3 separate regions of the Homo sapiens genome follow, and all the other regions are linked to region 1. The links are contacts of gene promoters, found by promoter capture Hi-C in blood cells and fetal thymus (Javierre and others, 2016). All regions are on one chromosome and are shown on one strand. Each heading gives the region's core, a stretch centred on a gene start or on the middle of the fragment in contact. The rest is flanking DNA. Distances are from core to core; before and after follow the strand shown. Region 1 holds the start of FAF1 (Fas associated factor 1). Region 2 holds the start of MAGOH (mago homolog, exon junction complex subunit). Region 3 holds the start of CZIB-DT (CZIB divergent transcript).

The links. The method cuts DNA at HindIII sites, captures the fragments that hold promoters and counts their contacts. A CHiCAGO score of 5 or more calls a contact.
Region 2: a contact is called between the fragment with the promoter of MAGOH here and the fragment with the promoter of FAF1 in region 1, in 2 of 17 cell types (neutrophils and non-activated CD4 T cells). The highest score is 6.9, in neutrophils.
Region 3: the fragment with the promoter of CZIB-DT here is called in contact with the fragment with the promoter of FAF1 in region 1 in 2 of 17 cell types (neutrophils and fetal thymus); the score reaches 6.5 in neutrophils.

The regions. Positions count from the first base shown.
Region 1 is chr1:50,958,273-50,962,276 of GRCh38, forward strand. FAF1 (Fas associated factor 1) reads right to left here and starts at 1,995. Exons shown (of 19, transcript NM_007051.3): 1 at 1,495-1,995. The coding sequence starts at 1,539. It also overlaps a transcript of CDKN2C not described here. RefSeq lists an enhancer at 1,282-1,331 and silencers at 1,642-1,691, 1,802-1,961. The HindIII fragment of the contact is 1,270 bases long and covers 884-2,153 here.
Region 2 is chr1:53,236,744-53,240,747 of GRCh38, forward strand. MAGOH (mago homolog, exon junction complex subunit) reads right to left here and starts at 1,775. Exons shown (of 5, transcript NM_002370.4): 1 at 1,618-1,775. The coding sequence starts at 1,705. It overlaps MAGOH-DT (MAGOH divergent transcript), which reads left to right and starts at 1,867. Exons shown (of 3, transcript NR_038953.1): 1 at 1,867-2,602. RefSeq lists enhancers at 1,428-2,069, 1,557-1,616, 1,657-1,786. The HindIII fragment of the contact is 5,872 bases long and covers 1-2,593 here.
Region 3 is chr1:53,218,337-53,222,340 of GRCh38, forward strand. It overlaps CZIB-DT (CZIB divergent transcript), which reads left to right and starts at 2,024. Exons shown (of 1, transcript NR_185918.1): 1 at 2,024-4,004. It overlaps CZIB (CXXC motif containing zinc binding protein), which reads right to left and starts at 2,298. Exons shown (of 8, transcript NM_017887.3): 1 at 2,234-2,298; 2 at 1,925-2,008; 3 at 531-587; 4 at 78-159. The coding sequence starts at 2,239. RefSeq lists an enhancer at 1,699-2,200 and silencers at 2,070-2,439, 2,570-2,629. The HindIII fragment of the contact is 4,059 bases long and covers 1,732-4,004 here.

The DNA of each region.
Region 1 (4,004 bases), core at 745-3,244:
TATGGTTTAATCAAACTGTAGATATATGCATATTCCTAATACCTGTATATCAGATTTCACTGGGTAACCAAAACAGCAAACTCTGAAAATGGTTATCTGAACGTTAATTTGTAAAAATAAGGGCCGGGAGCAGTGTGGCTCACGCCTGTAATCCCAGCACTTTGGGAGGCCGAGGAGGGTGGATCACGAGGTCAGGAGATCAAGACCATCCTGACTAACACGGCGAAACCCTGTCTCTACTAAAAATACAAAAATATTAGCCAGGCGTGGTGGCCGGCGCCTGTAGTCCCAGCTACTCGGGAGGCTGAGGCAGGAGAATGGCGTGAACCTGGGAGGCGGAGCTTGCAATGAGCCGAGATCGCGCCACTGCACTCCAGCCTGGGCGACAGAGCGAGACTCCGTCTCAAAAAAAAAAAAAAATTAATTAATTTTAAAAAAAATAAGGAACTTAATAGAACAGAGAGAGAGAAAAGCCCAACAAAATTTCAGCAAGGAAAAATACTGCCTACTAAGCTAGTGTTAGAACCTGTGCAATGTGAGTATTAAAAAAGAGGGAAAAGTCTGCCTATACTTGACAGTAGCTTCTAAGTTGATGCCAAAATGGCCAAAAATATCTCACTAAAATAATTCCTTCACCAAACATCAAAAGGCAAAGGTAGCACTCACAGGATATTAGTTCTAGCTCCAAGTCTTTCACAATGCATACAGTTCTACTTTCAAAGGGCCTTCCTAAGATACTTACATGTCAGTGGCACTACGACTGGGTTTATTAAGAGAACAGCCTTTACTTATCCTTTAAAGTATTCCTGGAGAAAGGACACCAACCAAGCAATTCAAGTCTGTAGGGGAGGGGAATCCGCAAATATGAATAGGTAATTTATTAAGCTTGTGAATTCATTGCAGAGATACTCTGGAATATATAGTCTTATCTGTCTCCTTGTTATCTTCTTACCCTCCAAAGATTCCAATTAGGCAAAGTCTCAAATGTTTACTCCTCTTTGAAAAGGACCTCAGTACCCCATTGTCATTGCCCTCGCCATCTCATCATTCTGCTTTTTTACTCTTCCCTTAATACAATATAAATACACCACGCCCATAACACCACACGCTCCACGCTCACACTCCATACATCTCTCCCCACAGAACCACCCAAAACATCCCATACTTAATGGTCCAACACCAATTAAAACAAAAACTCTACACGTCCCCCCATATAATACAGGAAACACTACACATTCCACACACATTGTAACCCAAGTCATTAATACCTCCAATCCCATTCAACCCGTACTTAACACATTCTACACACTCATGATAGCATATAAATTATACGCTTCTCCATAGCTCGCCACACACACACACACACGCCACGCACCGTATAAAAGCCTAAATGACACACCACTGCAGCGTTCAAACGCTGGGAAGAAGACTCCCTTGTGGCACCGGAAACCCACGAGGTTGGAAGTGGGAGGGGAAGAGGGCCAGATACTTCACCTGAAAATCCGCCAGGATCATCTCCCGGTCCATGTTGGACGCCATGGCGGCCGCCGAGTTCCGCGGCTCCGGGAGCGAAGCGCGCACCTGGGAGGCAGACGGCACCTCCTGCGACCGTCGCCGCCACCGCCGCCGCCGCCGCCGGGCGCCGAGGGGCTGGCGGGCGAGCCGGCGGGCGGGTCGGCGGGCCAGCGGGCGGGGCAGCGCGGGAAGCGCTAGGCGCTCATGCACTCGGTAACCTTCAGGCGCCCCGGCCGCCCGCCTGCAACCTGCGGAGCCCGCGTCGCAGCAGCCCGGACAGGAAGATTGGTCTGGATGTGGGTCCGGTCTTACAGTCGCGGGCCAGGATGAGGGCAGGTTGCGACAGCGCGCACCCGGATACCTTCAGCGGCGTTAAGCCCGGCGGGGGCGGGGAAACCGAGCGAGCGAGCGGGCGGGCGAACGCCGCGGCCGCCTCCGCCTCCTCCGCTTCCTCCCTGGCCGCCGCCTCCGCCCCTGGTTGGCCAGCGCCACGGCTGTCGCACATTTTGCCTGTCATCGAGGTCGCAAAGCGCCGCTTTGCGGCTCCACGTGACCACCCTCCTGTCAAGCGCTGAGCGCGCGACTACCCGGCCAGGATCTCTGCGCTGGCGGCAGAGACTGCAACCTGCAGCTGCGGAAGCTTCAAGTCTCGCAACAGGTTATTCCAGTTTGGATTTAAGCAAAGGCCTCAGGATAGCGCCTCCCCCTAGCTGAGGCGGGGACCAGATTGTGCACCTCACGTGGTTAGTCACACAAATACACACCACCCTCACAAACCAACTAAACACACTGTTACAACTCGTCTAACAAACAGCATTTCAGAAATATATGTTTTTCTCTACAATGTTTCAGCAAAATACAGCTTCATATAGTCTCTCACGCTCAACCTGTCAAAACCGAATCCACACTGTCACACCCAGTCCCAAGCTCCCTGACGTCTGCATCCTCAGACTCCGTAACACAGAAGTAACCAGACTGCCATGGTAGACATGGGAGAGACGAGGAAGCTGAGAAAGGTAAAAATCTCGTTCCAGAGAAGAGGAGGAGCATTTTTTTTAATTGATAAGGTAGTTATGAGAAATAACAACCTCGAGTTAATAGGGTTGCTCCAAAGGGGGAAAAAAGGGAAAACCTTTCTACTGCTGCAGTTATATTTGTTTTTTTAAGCTGAGACATCTTACAAATGGGATAAAACTTGAATCCAGCTTTGAATATAGTCAGTCTATTTTTATTTATTTATTTATTTATTTATTTATTTATTATTTTGAGACGGAGTCTCGCACTGTGGCCCGGGCTGGAGTGCAGTGGCGCGATCTCGGCTCGCTGCGACCTCCGCTTTCTGGGTTCAAGCGATTCTCCTGCCTCAGCCTCCATAGTAGCTGGGATTACAGGCTCCCGCCACCAAGCCCGGCTAAGTTTTTTTTGTATTTTTAGTAGAGACGGGGTTTCACTATGTTGGGCAAGCTGATCTCGAACTCCTGTCCTCGTGATCCGCCCTCCTCGGCCTCCCAAAGTGTTGGGATTACAGGCGTGAGCCACTGCACCCGGCCTATTCATTTTCATAAGAAATTATTTTGGAATATTCACCAAATATTGAAAGTTTCAACCCATGGTCAGAAATTGACAACCTCTGTAACTAAAACAGCCAAAGACTATGTACAATGAAGTGTGACAGTTTGTAATTGTCGTCCAGGTTAGAGAAAGTGTGACAGTGGAAGTTGTTCATCCTTGACTTGGGAAAATATCAGCTTCTGGATTGTCATGGGGCATTTACTTGCTTTGGAAAGTATGTAAAAGCTTGAAAATGTGAAGTAAGATTGCTGATTTTATCCTGTAGAGCTAAAATAACTAGTGAAATCATCATGTAGCATGAAGGCCTAGGCTTCCCTTAAGAACTTTTTAAACTTGTATCATTTATTTACTTTTTTAGAGACAGGGCCTCACTATGTTGCCCAGGCTGGCTTCCAACTCCTGTGCTCAAGCCATCCTCCCACCTCAGCCTCCTGAGAGTGGGGATTACAGGTGTGAGCCATACCACCACACCCAGCAAGGCCTAGGCTCCATAAACTGGGAATATATTCATGAGAAATCAGAAATATGACCTAATTGTTCAGTTTCACTGAATATAAAGAAGTGCACTGTATTATGATCTGAGTTTATTCTGTGTGTTTCCTTAAATGAAAATAGGCTGGCCTACAGTTCTTAAGTACTAATCTGTGTTTAGACCAGAATTAGCTAGATAATAGAACCCTCCACAGTCACATGAATCAAAATGTCTTGCTTAATTTTCAGCCGTAAGAAAATAATTCCATGGCCAGGGCAGTGGCTTATGCCTATAATCCCAACACTTTGGGAGGCCGAGGCAGGCAGATCACTTGAGGTCAGGAGTTCAAGACCAGCCTGGCCAACATAGTGAAATCCCATCTCTGCTAAAAATAATACAAAAATTAGCTGGGCATGGTGGCATATGCCTGTAGTCCCAGCTACTA
Region 2 (4,004 bases), core at 525-3,024, 2.3 Mb after region 1:
ATCTCCCTCACAGTCGAGGCCTGTCAGATTCATCTTTGTGCCCCACTTAGTGGATGTCTTCTGTCATCTTTGATTGCTCTTTCCTTCACCACAGTGCCTCTGCCAACAAAATCCTATCAACGATCAAAGTCCAGTTGGTTCTGCCTCCAACAGTTTCCTAAATCTTTCTCTCCATTTCTACTATCTCTGTAGTCCCAACCAGTATCTTTTTTTTTTTTTTTTTTTGAGACAGAGTCTTGCTCTGTCACCCAGGCTGGGGTACAGTGGCACTATCTCAGCTTGCTGCAACCTCCGCCCCAGGTTCAAGAGATTCTCCTGTCTCAGCCTCCCGAGCAGCTGGGATTACAGGCGTCTGCCACCACACCCGGCTAATTTTTGTATTTTTAGTAGAGGCGGGGTTTCACCATGTTGGCCAGGCTGGTCTTGAACTCCTGACCTCAAGTGATCCGCATACCTCGGCCTCCCAAAGGGCTGAGATTACAGGCTTGAGCCACCGCGCCCGGCCCCCAACATCTTTCGTGTCTTGACAACTGCAACAGTCTCCTAATCAATAGCCCTGTTTCCACTCTTGCCCATTCCGCACCCAATAACCAGAATGCTTTTTCAAGAAGAGATCACATTTCTTCTCTGCTTAAAACCTTCCAAGCCCGGCCGGGCGCGGTGGCTCACACCTGTAATCCCAGCACTTTGGGACGCCGAGGCGGGCGTATCACCTGAGGTCAGGAGTTCGAGACCAGCCTGGCCAACATGGTGAAACTCCGTCTCTACTAAAAATACAAAATTAGCCGGGCGTGGTGGTGGGCGCCTATAATTCCAGCTACTCGGGAGGCTGAGGCAGGAGAATCACTTGAACCCGGGAGGCGGAGGTTGCAATAAGCCGAGATCGCGCCATTGCACTCCAGCCTGGGCAAAAAGAGCGAAAGCCGTCTCAAAAAAAAAAAAAAAAAAAAGGCCTTCCAAGTCCAAACTTTTTACCGTGGTCTATAAAGACCTAAGAGGTGCCGCTCCTACCTACCTATCCGACATCATCTCCTGCTATCTCCCAGCTCACCACTCTTCAACCACACTGACCACCTGAGACACGCCTAGCTCATTCCCGCCCTGCAGCCTTGACATCTGGTATTCCCTTTGTGTAGAATGGTCTTCCTTATGAGCTTCACAAGGCTGAGCCCTTCTTGTTAATTAGGACTCGGCTGCAATATACCCTTTACAGAGAGCTCTCTAATGGCCAACCTATCTAAAAGCAGCCCATCCAGCAATTATTCTACCATGTTATTTTTTGACCACTCACTGCTATCTGGAATCATCTTTTTGTTTATGATCTCTCTCCCGGCAGTAAAACACAAGTTCCACGAGAGGGGAAGTTTGTCTACCTTCGCTGCCGTATTCCCAAAGAGTGGAACAGAGCCTGGCACACAGTGGGCGTTCAGTCAACGTTTGCTGAATGGATAGAAAGACCCCGTGGAGCAGACACAGTGGCGTTCCTTTAAGATCTGCACTGCACAGGTCTCAGTCCCTCCCTCCTCTAGTTCCCCACAGATTTCCGACCCTCGGCCTCCCCACTCGCCGGCCCCCAGGCCTGGTCCCCGCTCCCGGCGGGCGGCAGGCTGCTTTTACCGTCCGGTCGAAACTCAAACTCCAGGAACTCGTGGCCGAACTTGCCCTTGTGCCCCACGTAGTAACGCAGATAAAAGTCACTCTCCATGGCTCCCAAAAGACAACCGAGCCTGAACTTCCAAGAGCAAGCCGCACTGCCGCCGTCTGCGCCCGACACTGACGTTTGCGGCGGCGCGCGGAAGTGACGTCAGGTCCCGTCGTCGCTGCGTGGAGGGGTTCCTTCTCGCTAACCTCTTCGCCCGGAAGTGGCAACAAGACTGCAACATCCCCTCACGCCTAGTCTGTAAAGAACTTTGTTTAACCCGGAGGCGGGGCCAGCCAGCTCCGCCCCTCCAGCTGGACGCGGGAGCGAGGTTGAGGTTCATACCCCTGGGTTCTCTCCAGGCCTGAGGCGGAGAGCCAGCCGCCTGCCTACCTCTGGGCTTTGAACCCCGGGTCTGGTGACTTCGCTTAAAGACCTCGGGCCGAAGGCCCGCCAGGCTCAACCTCGGTTCACAGGACCCCCGACTTGTGTGAGTCGTACACCGCTCTTTACCGTCTCTGGACCTAGGTCATCTCGGCAGTAAAATGGGGTGAAATGACCCGACCTCCCCGGAGGATGCCGCGCACGATGTGTGCCTCAAGTTGGCTTCCACTGACCTGAACTGTTAAGAAAGCCCTCCTCAGTGACGCCTTCCCTGAATCCACAGTGGAGATTGCCGTTTTCCTGGAACTAATTCACCCACACTTACCCATTTCATCCCTTTCCACCTTTTATTTCTACCTTTCTGCCCCACTGATCTCTAGAATAGGTGCTGGGAGACGTTAGAGTATTTGATCTCCCACTCCCCAGTCATCCCACTTACCGAGCAGTAATTCTCTGCCTGGCTGCACATTGCAATCACTTGGGAAGCCTCTAAAAATACTGATGCCAGGGCTCTACCCCAAGCCAGTTAAAATCTCCAGCGCTGGACCTGGGCATTGGTACTTTTTGTAAAGCTTTCAGGTGAGTCAGAGTTGAGGACCACTGACCAAAGAGGTCCTTTCTTTTCAGGGTAAAGTTGTCCTCTGTGAAGCCTTTCTGGCTCTGGAAAAAATTTACAGTTGAGTAGGCCCAGGGCAATCAAGATCATAATTATGTAATAGGAACCTGCTTTCACTCATCTAAGTTCCAGGCTTAGAAAGAATGAATGGTTCTAGAGACAGTGCCGAGATGACATCATTCTTGGGTCCTGGCGGCTAGAACTGTATACGATTCTGTAAGTTGGGACAGCAGTCTCTGATTCCTATTCCCAGTCTTTTCTTTTTGAGACGGAGTTTCGCTCTTGTTGCCCAGGCTGGAGTGCAATGGAGTGATCTCAGTTCACCGCAACCTCGCCTACCTAATTTTTAAACTTTTTGTAGAGGCAAAGTCTCCCTATGTTGCCCACGCTGGTCTCAAACTCCTGGGTTCAAGTGATTCTCCTGCCTTAGCCTCCCAAGTAGCTGGGATTACAGGCATGCGCCACCATGTCCAGCTAATTTTTGTAATTTTCTGTTTTTAGTAGAGACGGGGTTTCACCATGTTGGCCAGGCTGGTCTCGAACTCCCGACCTCAGGCGATCCGTCTGCCTCGGCCTCCCAAAGTGCTGGGATTACAGGCATGAGCCACCGCGCCCGGCCCTCAGTCTTAACACGGAGTCCTTTTCTCCCTGCAAAAGCATTAGCAGCAGAGTGTAGAGTAGGTGTGGTGGGGGAAAAATCACTGGACACAGGTTAAAATAATCCCTGTGTAACAATGACTCATTGTAACCAAAGGTGAACCGACTCAACTTTTTAGACTTCAGTTTCCTTCTCTTTAAAATGAGCATAATAATGTACACCTAGCAGAACTGTTGTAAGAAACAATGTCTCGGAAACTAAATTGCTGTAAAACCATAAGACATTTTTATTACAAAACACTGGATATGGGTGGTAACAAGGGAATTGTATAAACGAGAAGGGGGCTAGACACAGTGGCTCATACCTGTAGTCCCAGCACTTTGGGAGGCTGAGGCAGGAGGATCACTTGAGCCCAGGAGTTTGAGACCAGCCTGGGCAACATAGGAGACTGTCTCTACAAAAAATTTAAAAAATAGGTAGGTGTGGTGGTGCACACCTGTAGTCCTAGCTACTTGGGAGGCTGAGGTAGGAGGATAATTTGAGCCTGGGAGGTCGAGGCTGTAGGGAACCATGATCACACCATTACACTCCAGCCTGGGTGACAAAGCAAGACCCTGTCTCAAAAAAAAAAAAAAAGAGAAAAAAAGAAAAGGGACCAGGTATCAAGCACCTAATAAATGTCAGCCCCTAGGGTCAATGGGATTACCTGTGCTTGTTCTTTGAATCATCACAACAATCTTGAGGTGGTAATTAGAGTTAAGTATGTA
Region 3 (4,004 bases), core at 774-3,273, 2.3 Mb after region 1:
CATGAGTCTACTTTCAGCCTGGTGCCAGGAAGCTGTGGGCCACCCTGGCAGAACTCAGTACGCACAGCCTGACCTACCGATGGAATTTTCTCTTGCACACAGCTTGCACTTCTGGACCATGGAAGCACTGCCACGGCCCCCCTTCAGTGCCACACTGTCCTGGCAAAAAGCAAACAGAACTTTCAGTCACATATGAATTAGATGTACAGTCCTGAGGAGATCGAGCCCACCATTTATTGTCCACTTAAAGAGACCAAGACCCAGAAAGGGTAACTTACTAGGACAAGACTCCTGGGAAGGCTTCCTGAGGAAAATAAAAAAAGGGCTTCCCCTTGATTTTGAACTCTGCCTCATACCTCAAAGATGCCTATTGAATCCAGTGCTGATCACACTGACACCTACCCTCCCAAACCACAAAAAGCAGGGAGCAAAGAACTGGAGAGATGAAGGCCAGTTTCCCCAAATCCCTGCCCAGAAGTGTATGTGTGTTTGTGAGTGTTTATGTTGGGGGTTGGGCGGGGAACAGTTACCATCAGCCGGATGTACTGCCACTTGTCCGAAATCTCACCACAGTTGCCACATTTCATCTTTGGGGAAAAAGAATGTTAGTAAAGCAGCTGGCTCTGCTGCACAGACACCAAGGAAAGGGTAAGAACAGTGGGAGGTGGGCAGGCTCATGATCTACCTTCTTGATGGCAATCTCACTTCATCCCTAACACCTGCCCCAACAAGGACAAAACTAGAACTATCTCTGGGCAAAGGATAGGTAAGGCTGTTTCCTATGCCGGCGTGCCCACCCTCCTCTATGAAGTGCTCAGTGTGGCCGGGGATTCAAGGCACCTGTGGTGCAGAAATGGTTTCAGCGGAGGTGAGGGGGGGGAATATGGAGAGATTTGTTAGAAGATACAAAATTACAGCTATATGGGAGGAATAAGTTCTAGTGTTCTATAGCACTGTAGGATGACTATAGCTGACAATAATATATAGTTTCAAATAGCTAGGATATTAAATGCTCCCAACACAAAGAAATGATACACGTTTGAGGTGAATATGCTAACTACCTTGATCTGATCACAATACATTACATTTATCGGAACATCACTATATACCCCATAAATATGTACAATTCTGTGTCAATTAAGAAAAAAAAAGAGAAATGGCCTCAGCAGGCCCCCGACCCACTCTGCTTGGTTAGCTTTATGTTCCCACAGGCCCTGTATGTCACTGGTATAAGCACTTATCACTCTATTGTTACTCTATTTTTCTGTCTCCTTCACTCGATTCCGCTTCTTCAAGCCAAAGAACAGATTCTCCCAAGTAAGCCCTGGTATTCAGGCTTCAAAATCCTGGGAAACAAAAGTAGTCCGGAGGCAGCTTCCCGAAAAACAGGGCTTTTGAGAGGTACAGAAGGATGCTGGGATTTTTGACCAGGAGTAAAACAGAGCAGAAGCTCTGGGATCTGGAAGAGTGAAGAGCCTCGAACTGCTGGGGAAGGGGAGGCCTCTGTAGACCATGCCACTAGGGTACCAGCTTTACCAGTGTGGGAGGGCTAAGGAAGGGTGGATTACGCACAAAATTAAACTATTTCACAATAAAGAAAACCAAATCAATAAACGAAAGGCGAACTATTCACCTTATTAAATAATCACAAGCGTCCCTTCAAGTAGCATTTCGTTTAGTGTCCATTTACAGACCACGAAATATTTAACACAGGGAAGAACTACAAAATGAAGCTTTCCAAGACTGCCAATTAGAGATAAACCAATACACTTTAATAGAAAGCAAACGTAAAATTCTAACTAGGAAAACCCCGAACACTTAATGTGCCTGGTTAAATATTTTCTCATACTGCCGGAGAGAAGGCTCCGGTTCAGCACTGAGATCAGGACGGGCCTCCTCTCCCCGGGCCCCGCCCCGGCCGCACCTTCAGGTACCACCGGAAGTCCTCGCCCACGGGCCGGAGGTTGGTGATGTTCTCCAGCGTGGCTTTGAGTTGCAGCGCGATTTTCTGAGGGGGAGGGCCAGAGCGACTGCGTCAGCCGTGCCTGCGCAGCCCCACGCCTGCCCGACCCTCCCGCATTCCCAGCCGTGGGTGCCACAGGGAGACACTCCTTCTGCCTCCTGCTCCTTCAGCGCGCACCCACTCGCTTCATCTCCTCCTGGCGCGAGCTGTTGCCTCCCAGACCCTCGCCACCTCCCCTCCGTGTCCCCGCGGCGGGCGGCCTCCCCTCACCCCCATGGTAGCCCTCTCCGCCCGGTGCTGGCTGCGGCCCTTGCCGTTGCTTTCCGGCGCGTCGTAAAAGGCGGGTGCCGTCTGCGCACCCTCAGTAGGGCGGGGCCGGGGCCGGGCCGCGGGGCAGGGACTTCTGCGCGCCGCTGCTCGCCTGGCCCACTGGGCTTTTCGCATCTGGGGATCTGGGGCCAGTGGAGGTCAGCCAGGTCCGCGAGCAACCTGTGCTCAGGCCAGCGGAAGCCTGACTCCAGGATTCGGTGGTGCCACAGACAGTTACTGAACGCCAATTTTGTGCCTGCTTTAAGCGAACAGGACAGTTCCTGACCCTCAGTTCTTTCCAGGCTCTTCACTACTCTGCCTGCCCTGGAACTTCTCAGATCACGTCAGCTCCCTCTGCCCAGGGGAAAAGCTACAAAAGGAAGAGTTCCAAGACTGCCAAATAAAGATAAACCAATACGCTTTAAAAAGTAGAATGTATTGGTTTATCAGATTTGGGGATGATGCCTTTCTTCAAACTGCCCTTTCCTGTTTCACCCAAGAGACCTGGTTTCTAGGCCCTTCTCCAGAGTTTGCCCTGTGTCCACATCCTTCTCACTGTGGTCCTTGCGACTGGACATTCCCCTTCAGCTGGCTCTTTTTTGGGAGCCCACCTGGCTTATCCTTCTCTCATAACGTTTATTGAACTTTATTTTACCTGGCCTCCTGTCCAGGCTACATCTGAGACCATGCAGGAGCTGTGGAGATTAACGGTAAAAGGAACAGCACATTCAAGACTCTTCTAGGAGGTGGGGCAAGATAGCCAAATAGAACCCTCCAGTGATCCTCCTCCTCCTCTTCCCTGGCAGGAACACCAAACTGAACAACTATCCACACAAGAAAGCACCTTCATGAGAACCAAAACTCAGGTAGCAATCACAGTAGCTGGTTGTAACGTCACATCAAGATATAAGGCAATGGCTGGGTGCGGTGGCTCACACCTGTAATCCCAGTGCTTTGGGAGGCTGAGGCGGGCAGACCACCTGAGGTCAGGAGTTTGAGACCTAGCTGGCCAACATAGTGAAACCCTGTCTCTACTAAAAATACAAAAATCAGCCGAGTATGGCAGTGCACACCTGTAGTCCCAGCTACTCCGGAGGCTAAGGCAGGAGAATTGTTTGAACCCGGGAGGTGGAGGTTGTAGTGAGCTGAGATCATGCCATTGCACTCTAGCCTGGGTGACAGAGTGAGACTCTATCTCATAAAAGAAGAAAAAAAAAGGAACAAGGCAATGAAGAGGGTAGGAAAGACAGTCTTGAATTGCTACCACCACCCCTCCCTCATCCTCTGGCAGCACCTGGCTGCCTGGCATAGAGAGAGAATCTGTGTGCTTATGGGACTTTGCATTGGAACTGAGTTTTGCCCTGTCACAGTGGAAAGCAACTCAGGGCAGAATTCAGCTAGTGCCCACAGAGGAAGCACTTAGAGAAACCCTAGCCAGAGGGGAATCATCCATCCCAGTGGTCAGGTTCTGGCGAGCCCCACCACCACTGGCTAAAGTGCTTCAGGGTCCTAAATAAATTCGAAAGGCAGTCTAGGCCACAAAGACTGCAATTCCTGGGCAAGTCCTGGTGCTGTGCTGAGCTCAGAGCCCGTGGACTTGGGGTGCACACAGCCTAGTGAGATACCAGTTGGGGAGCCAAAGGAGTGTTTATGTCACCAGTCCCCCAACCCCAGGCAGCACAGCTCACGGCTCCAGGAGAGACTCCTTTCCCTTAGAGGAAAGGAGAGGGGA